Linked DNA regions of Homo sapiens: regions 1 and 2 are each linked to region 3. Evidence: promoter capture Hi-C in human tissues and cell types (Jung and others, 2019). All regions are on one chromosome and are shown on one strand. Each heading gives the region's core, a stretch centred on a gene start or on the middle of the fragment in contact. The rest is flanking DNA. Distances are from core to core; before and after follow the strand shown.

Region 1 (2,700 bases), core at 38-2,537, 160 kb before region 3:
AAGGTGTAAGGAAGAGATCCAGTTTCAGCTTTCTATATATGGCTAGCCAGTTTTCCCAGCACCATTTATTAAATAGGGAATCCTTTCCCCATTTCTTGTTTTTGTCAGGTTTGTCAAAGATCAGATAGTTGTAGATGTGTGTTATTATTTCTGAGGGCTCTGTTCTGTTCCATTGGTCTATATCTCTGTTTTGGTACCAGTACCATGCCGTTTTGGTTACTGTTGCCTTGTAGTATAGTTTGAAGTCAGGTAGCATGATGCCTCCAGCTTTGTTCTTTTGGCTTAGGATTGACTTGGCAATGCGGGCTCTTTTTTGGTTCCATATGAACTTTAAAGTAGTTTTTTCCAATTCTGTGAAGAAAGTCATTGGTATTGATATTGATTCTTCCTATCCATGAGTTTTTTTTAATTAAGTTAAATTTTTTTTATTTTCCAGTTTTTCATAAAAATAGAGATGGGGTCTAGTTATGTTGACCAGGCTGGTCTTGAACTCCTGGTCTCAAGCAGTCCTCCCACCTTGGCCTCCCAAAGTGGTGGGATTATACACATGAGCCACCTTGCCTGACCCTCTCTGGGTCTTATTTACCTTACTAGTTTATTATACAGGTGAATGAATTGGGGAAGAGCTTGTTCCGCAATTCATTGCCAAACAATGAATTGTTAGACTGACAAAGCTAACTAACAAAGCTTGTTAGTTTGTTATACAGAGAATGTTATACAGATGCAGCTTGTTAGTTTGTTATACATATAGTAACAAGTGCTACAATAAAATTAAAGTCTGTGACTGAGCTTTTCTAAATATTTGAAAATTTACCTAAACTTATAGTAGCTGTTGTCTAATGCAATTTAGTACATTGTTAAATTTTTTCTTGTAGTTACTATTTGTTAGTAGTTTATCTCCTTGAAATAGAGTGTAAACTACTTGAGTCTGTGGATTTGTGGAGACAAACACATTTGAGTATTATTTCTGCCATTGTCATTTAGGCACTATAACTTCACTGAACTTGAGTGTACTCTCTTGTTAAGGCAAAAGTACTAATAATTCTTTGACAAGAAGGTAATGCTTAAATGAAATAATGTACTTAAGGGATCTAGTACAATGCCTGGCAGACAGTTTATTCCCGGTAAACTTTACTTATCCTCTTTTTGTACTCCACCTGTGCCCACTTTGGTAATGAAAAAATAAATGGCTTCCCAGAACAGTTTGAAATGCAAGTGGCATTCACAGAAGCCTATTCCTGGTGATGATGCCATTTATATTTTTTTCTTTTGCACTTTGCAGCTTTTAGAATCCTTATTTTAGCCGGGTGAGGTGGCTCGTGCCTGTAATCCCAGCACTTTGGGAGGCCAAGGCAGGTGGATCACCTGAGTTCAGGAGTTCGAGACCAGCCTGGCTAACATGGAGAAACCCTGCCTGTCTCTACCAAAAATACAAAAATTAGTCAGGCGTGGTGGTGCATGCCGGCAGTCCCAGCTACTCAGGAGGCTTAGTCAGGAAAATCACTTGAACCTGGGAGGCGGAGGTTGCAGTGAGCCGAGATCATGGCATTGCACTCCAACCTGGGCAACAAAAGTAAAACTCTGTCTCAAAGAAAAAAAAAGAATCCTTGTTTTAGTTTTACCACAACCTTGTGCAATAAGGCTGGGCAGATATGATTATCCTATCTGACAGGTGGGAGTTTTGTTTTTGGAGTGAACTAAATTGGGATTCTTAAGAGGCAATCATTGGATTTGTAGGTAAAGTCTGAATGTATTACATGATTATGGTATACTGCATTTCTCTGAATTTCTTAGTTGATATAGTAGTGAAAAGGGAATTCTTCTATTCCATGGCTTAAGGATACGTAAACTCTCAGTACAGCAATCTTTTTATTGTTGATTATTATAGCTTCTGTTACTCCTAGAAGTTGACCAACAGGGACCTTAATTTAGGAGATTTTGTCATTCAGCTTTCGTATAGTAAATGCTGAGGCTAGCCCTTTGCCTGCAGGGCTATCAGTGAAGAGGATCTGTGACATTACTCCAGACAGCCAAGTGTAGGGGGAAGAGTTGAGATTTTCAGTGTTCTCTGTGTAAATGAATTGTGCCATTGAACCTGATGGGCACTAGATACTATATTCTTCTTGAAGCACTGGAGGCCCTTCATTGCAATCTTGTTTTTTCAACTTTTATTTTAAAATTGGGGTATATGTGCAGGTTTGTTACAGAGATATACTGCACGATGCTGAGGTTTGGAGTCTGAGTGAATCTCACCCAGGTAGAGAGTGCAAAGTACCCATAGGTAGTTTTTTCAAGCTTTACCCCCTTTGTCCTCCCACCTTTTGTATTCCTCAGTGTCTGTTCCCTTCTTTATGTCCATGTGTACTCAAGGTTTTGTTCCTATGTATAAGTGAGAAAATGTGGCATTTGGTTTTCTGTTTCTGCATTAGTTCGCTTAGGATAATGGCTTCTAGCTGCATCCATGTTCTGCAGAGGACATGATTTCATTATTTTTTATGGCTACTTAGTATTCCATGGTATATGTGTACTGCATTTTCTTTATCCAGTCTTCCGTTGATGGGTACCTGGGTTGATTCTGTGTCTTTACTATCGCATTGCAGCATTTCAATTTTTTTTCTGATTCAGGTAGTAGAAAACATGTTCAGTCTTATTTTTTTCTGTGCTGTGTATGCTTTTTAAAGGCTAGTGAAGTCATTCAGT
Region 2 (2,703 bases), core at 48-2,547, 230 kb before region 3:
AGAGCGAGACTCTGTCTCAAAAAAAAAAAAAAAAAAAAAGGAAGCTATTTGAGCTAGCATCAAATAATTAGTGCACAGTACACATGGAAGAACTATCCTTTTAATCAAACGGGCATTTTTATTACTATTTGGCTTTGTTCTGGTCTTAACCTTTCCCTCAATTGTGAATCGCTAATGACAACTTTTATACAGATGTCATGATTTCCATGGTTTAAACAAATGTAAAATTAGTTTAAAATGCCAGAATGAAATGGATACTCTCACAAATTTGCTCATTGCTATACTAAAGTGCCTTGATAAAGAATTTTACAATAAAATCCTGTTAATAAGACTGCTGATTCAGAGATGACCATAATTCACACGTGATCGAGACTTAAAGCTTATTGTTTTACTTGTGAAAAAAGTTTAAGCAGAATGTTTAACTTTTAAAAACAAATAAATGATATTGAAAGCAACGGTTTACATTAACTTACGTGCTAATGTCTCTCATTCAGCTTTAGCAGGTCCTCAAGGACCTTTCTTAATACTTTTTTGGTTAACAAAAGTATAAATGGAAACTTGAAGAGAACCTAAGAAGAGAAATGAAAATGATTGAGGGAATATAGACCCCAAAACACACAAACACACACACACAAGCACGTTTAAGATAGGGGTTGAAAAGACATACTGAGGAGGAATTTGAACTTTATTTTTGTTTTCACCTTTGAGACAGGGTCTCACTATGTTGCCCAGGCTAGAGTGCAGTCATAGCTTGCTGCAGCCTCAAACTCCCAGGCTCACATGATCCTCCTGCCTCGGCGTCTCAAGTGGCTACAGGCACACACCACTATGCTGGCTATTTTTTTTTTCTTTTTTGTTTTTGTAGAGACAAGGGTCGCCCTTTGTTGACAGGGGTGGTTTTTGAACTCCTGGGCTCAAGGGGTCCTCCTGCCTTGGCCTCCCATTGTTGGGATTACAGGCGTGAGCCACCTTGCCAAGCCACGTTTATTTTTAAAAACAGGATAAATATATTCTTGTCCAGCCAATCCCAGAATCAAGTACAGTAGCTTGAAATAGATGAAATAATTTTAGAATGTATTGTTTTATTTATAGAGCTGATAGATAAATGAAACAGTATAAAGGGTAAATATTTGCTGTTTAACAGACAACCTCAAAACTTAGCTTAAAAAAAACAATTATTTTTCCCCTCAAATCTGATGGTTTTTCTGCTTCACTTGGTATTGGCTGAGGTGTGGGAAAGACCTTCACTTCTCCTCTATATGGGCCTTTCTCTACCTGGCTGCTTGGATTTCCTTAAAGTGTGGTGGCAAGGTTCTAAGAAGGGACATTCCAGGAGACAGGAGGTAGAGACTGCCAGTCTTCTAAATCCTAGATTTGGAAGTCCAAGAATGTCACTGTGGGTCAAAGCCAGTCAAGGCCAACTACAGAGGGAGGAGAAATAATGTCTACCTATTGATAGGAAGGGTGGCGTGCATAAACAAGGAAGGGGGAATTGCTGGGGGCCACCTTTTGAGACTTGCTACCGTAGGTGCTATGCTAGTTGGATGTTAAGGCTAAAAATAAAAATGGTATCGGCCAAGTTTGTGGGTCATAATGCTAGGAATGTTTAGGAGGCATCTCTTTTTTTGAGGTTAACTTCGGAAGGCACTAACATGATCTCCTGCGTGACTTCCCTTAATGATGTCACTGTTGACATAATACTGGGTGAATTAATGTGATTAAGTAAACTTGCTTACTTACTTCAGGAAACAGAGGTATCTAAACAGATTACATTTTAAAATAAATTGTCAGATGTTTCACTGTAATGGAATTTTCTTTACATCAGTGAAATTGATTACCAGGTAGTGGGATGAACATCTGAAACTAGTTCTTAGTTTAAGTTGTCTGAGTTTTTGTGTATACTTTACCTATTCCCAGTTTAAATTGGCTTTCAAACAGTTTGTTTTCTGGGTACTCTTATAGGTGTTGGGGTATGAAATTAGTGGTAATTCTTTTTGCCTATTTTCTTTTTTTTTGTCTGAGATACCCTGAGTCTCGCTCTGTTGCCCAGACTGGAGTGCAGTGGCACAATTTCGGTTCACTGCAACCTCCGCCTCCTGGGTTCAAATGATTCTCCTGCCTCAGCCTCCTAAGTAGCTGGAATTACAGGCGTGTACCACCTTGCCTGGCTAATTTTGTTGTATTTTTTTTTTTTTGAGATGGAGTTTTGGTCTTGTTGCCCAGGCTGGAGTGCAATGGTGCAAACTCAGTTCACTGCAACCTCTGCTTCTGAGGTTCAAGTGATTCTCCTTCCTCAGCCTCCCCTGTAGCTGGGATTACAGGCATGCACCACCACACCCAGCTAATTTTGTATTTTTGGTAGAGACAGGGCTTTTCCATGTTGGTCAGGCTGGTCTCGAACTCCCAACCTCAGGTGATCTGCCCGCCTTGGCCTCCCAAAGTGCTGAGATTACAGGCGTGAGCTGCCGTGTCCGGCCTCTTTTTGCTAATTTTCTAAATTTATGTTTATAGTAGATTTTCATAAATTATCAAAAGTGAATTATTAGATGTGGAGTAAAAATTCAACTTTGAGTAGTTTTAGAAATTATTTATTGCTAAATTAGAAAATAAACTTTCAAAAGAGATCTCTTTTTTTTAAAAAAACTTAATTGAGACAGGGTCTCACTCTGTCACCCAGGCTGGAGTACAGTGGTGCAACCTTGG
Region 3 (2,765 bases), core at 179-2,678:
TTTCAACAAAGCGCGTTTCTTGCCCTTACAGTCTGACAGACCCGACAACCCTGCCTCCAAAGCCTCTGCCATTTATTTGCCAATTTGGCTGCAAAACAACTAACAACAAGCCTGGGTAATGGAGGGGGGTTTCTGTCCCAGTCCTCAGGGCAAAAATTATACTGGTCATTCCCTGAGGGCCCAGGGAGTCTTTTCTGATGGATAGAGGTCTTCGGGTAGAAAAGAAGGTAACACAGCAAATAGCCTGTCCAAGACCCAGGACCAAGCTTAGCACAAGGTAGATACAAACAGACCTGCAGGCCCTGGACAGGCAGAGTCAGCTCCAATATCTGATTCTGGACATAAACAACGTAGGGCTGAAGCACATGAAGGCTGTGGGTTCAAGCACACGAGGGTTCTGAGACTGGGTCAGCTCACCTTCTGCTTCTTCTCCCTCTTCCCTCCTAGGAATCTTTGCAAGTACTTTTGATGATGCATCAGCATGAATTTTCTGCCGCTTGGGAAATGCCTTCAAGATACCCCTGGGATCCATTGAAGTATGGCTGGATCCCGGCCTATTGGAGCGTTGGTCAGGGCTGCTGCACGTGGAAATCCAGAATTGAGGCCCTCCAACCCCTTTGCCTATGGAGGTAGGGTCTTTCCTGACCAGGCTTTGGGGGTAGCAGCCCAGTTTGGGGAAGCGGGTCGGGGGAGGGGGTCTCTTCAAACCCGGTTAAACTTCAGTGGTTTAGCCTAGCTTCACACTCCCCAGCCTTTCGAAGTTGGAGTATTACGGGAAATGAGGGGAAGGCTGGTGCCATCGGGGGTACTTTTGAGGAGTAGGAAACGACACCATTCCTCAGAGGGGTTGCGCTAAAGATTCAGCACAGCCCTGCTGCGGCCCACTTCGAAGGGCTTTACCAAATGGGATGCTGGGCTAGGAAATGGAGCTTTAGGGGATGGAGCGGAGCCTGGGGAGGACCTGCACATAAACCCCACATACTATTTCTCTACCTCCAACACAGACTCGCAGAGGAAGGAGGAGGACTTTCGGGGGTGAGTGGGAACGCCCTGCACCTGTCCTGGTCTCAGCCTCTCGACATGGGGGTGCTCAGCGCCGCAGCTGCGGGGAGATGGGGCACGGCCGCAGCAGGTGTGGGGAGCCCTCCGGGAATGGAGGAGTCTCGCAGCTGCGGGTGAAGTCCCGGGCAGGTGCGGTGTACTCGCCGTGTACGCAGCTGGCGCAGGCCAGGGAATCCCAGCTCGGGGCTAGAAGAAAGCTGGAGTGCCCGACCCCGGCCCCAAGAGTCTCTCCAACCCCCAGAGTCGGTCCCCGGGTGGGGTCGACTACTGGCCAAGCTAGTCACCCGGGGGTGGGCAGGAATAGACCACTTACCAGCAGAGCCAATGAGAGCGGACGAAGGGGGGAAGGAGGGCAAATGGCCAGAATAGCTTCCGAGTCAGCCGGAAGTGACCCTCTGGAACGGTTGCCATGGCAGCGGCTGGGCGTGCTGCTTAGCAGGGGAAAGATGGCGGTGACGGGCTGGTTGGAGAGTCTGCGGACAGCCCAGAAGACTGCGCTGCTGCAGGACGGTAACTCGAGGGTCCCCACGGGCTCCTTCGTTTTTTTCCCTCAGGGTCCGGCCCTCCGGGAAGGGCCTCAGGGCCTGGGTCGGCAGAGCTGGAAGGGTCTCGGCGGTCAGCCGGGCCAGGTCCTGCATTTGCAGATGAGGAGACTGAGGTTCACAGAGATGACATGACTGGAACACATGTCTCCGGACACCCCTTAGATTCCTCTACACCATCTCGCTCCGCTCTGATTTCTGTTGCTAATATAGTAATTTCTTTTACATTCATTATCTCATTTGCTCCTCACCACTGTCCTGAGAGGCTAATTTTCACCCCGTTTTACAGAAGAGGAAACTGAAATCCAAGAATGTTTTAGACTTTAGAGAGGAGAGAGGCCTGGGCTCTAGTTCCGACTGTGCCATTAATTCACCACGGGCGCTTCAGTCGGCTCCTTTACTTGTTTGGGCCTCACTTTCCTCATCTATAAAATGAAGTGGATGGACTACCATTGTTATCTCTGAGGTCCTTTCCAGCTGTAATATTTTTGTTAAGTGAACTTCTAAATATTTTCTGTGTCTTTAGGGGAGCTAGAGCAAGAACCAAGGGCTGTGCCTGGAAGAAGTGGGCACAGGGGCATGGATACCTAACTTTTCCCCACCCTAGGATTGGCCGATGCCGGCCCCTTTGTGCACTTGGGTCCTTTCTGGACCCACTGGGTAGCCAGGATGAATTGCGTCTGAAGTTCCTGAGGCTTTCAAGATAACAACTGGTGACTCATGTTCACAGGCAGGGGCCAATCAGGGAAGCCTGGAGTTTGTGGAAATTAAAATCATTTACTCGTTCGTGCAACATTTAGGAAGACTTTTACTATGTGCCAAGCTCTAAACTAGAACAGAAAGAAAAAGATATGTTGTCCCAGGACTCAGAGTGGTTGGGAAAAACATGTACTTAAATAATAAGAAGCGTTAAATAGAGGTTGTAGTCTTGTATAAAATGGTAGGAAAGAGTGAAGGTGTAAGTGACATCTCTTTGGAGGAAGACCCAACAGAAGTGATGATGTTTCTGGGTCCTAAAGAATTAATAAGGTCAGGCACAGTGGCTCACGCCCGTAATTCCAGCACTCTGGGAGGCCAAAGTGGGCGGATCATTTGAGCTCAGGAGTTCGAGACCAGCTTGGGCAACATGGCCAAACCTCATCTCTACAAAAAATACGGAAA

Evidence for each region. The method cuts DNA at HindIII sites, captures the fragments that hold promoters and counts their contacts. A contact is called where the count stands out against the background at its distance.
Region 1: a contact is called between a fragment that was not itself captured here and the fragment with the promoter of POLL in region 3, in 2 of the 25 tissues and cell types used here (adrenal gland and mesenchymal stem cells).
Region 2: a contact is called between a fragment that was not itself captured here and the fragment with the promoter of POLL in region 3, in 1 of the 25 tissues and cell types used here (spleen).

What each region holds. Positions count from the first base shown.
Region 1 is chr10:101,422,647-101,425,346 of GRCh38, forward strand. The region is part of intron 1 of BTRC (beta-transducin repeat containing E3 ubiquitin protein ligase); the gene reads left to right. Among named protein-coding and RNA genes, the nearest start is that of BTRC, 70 kb to the left of the region's middle. The HindIII fragment of the contact is 5,073 bases long and covers 1-2,700 here.
Region 2 is chr10:101,357,423-101,360,125 of GRCh38, forward strand. All of the region lies in intron 1 of BTRC (beta-transducin repeat containing E3 ubiquitin protein ligase), which reads left to right. Among named protein-coding and RNA genes, the nearest start is that of BTRC, 4.6 kb to the left of the region's middle. The HindIII fragment of the contact is 4,092 bases long and covers 1-2,703 here.
Region 3 is chr10:101,586,829-101,589,593 of GRCh38, forward strand. POLL (DNA polymerase lambda) reads right to left here and starts at 1,429. Exons shown (of 9, transcript NM_001174084.2): 1 at 994-1,429; 2 at 418-578. The coding sequence starts at 532. DPCD (deleted in primary ciliary dyskinesia homolog (mouse)) reads left to right here and starts at 1,493. Exons shown (of 6, transcript NM_015448.3): 1 at 1,493-1,572. The coding sequence starts at 1,509. RefSeq lists enhancers at 1,069-1,348, 1,449-1,778. The HindIII fragment of the contact is 10,926 bases long and covers 1-2,765 here.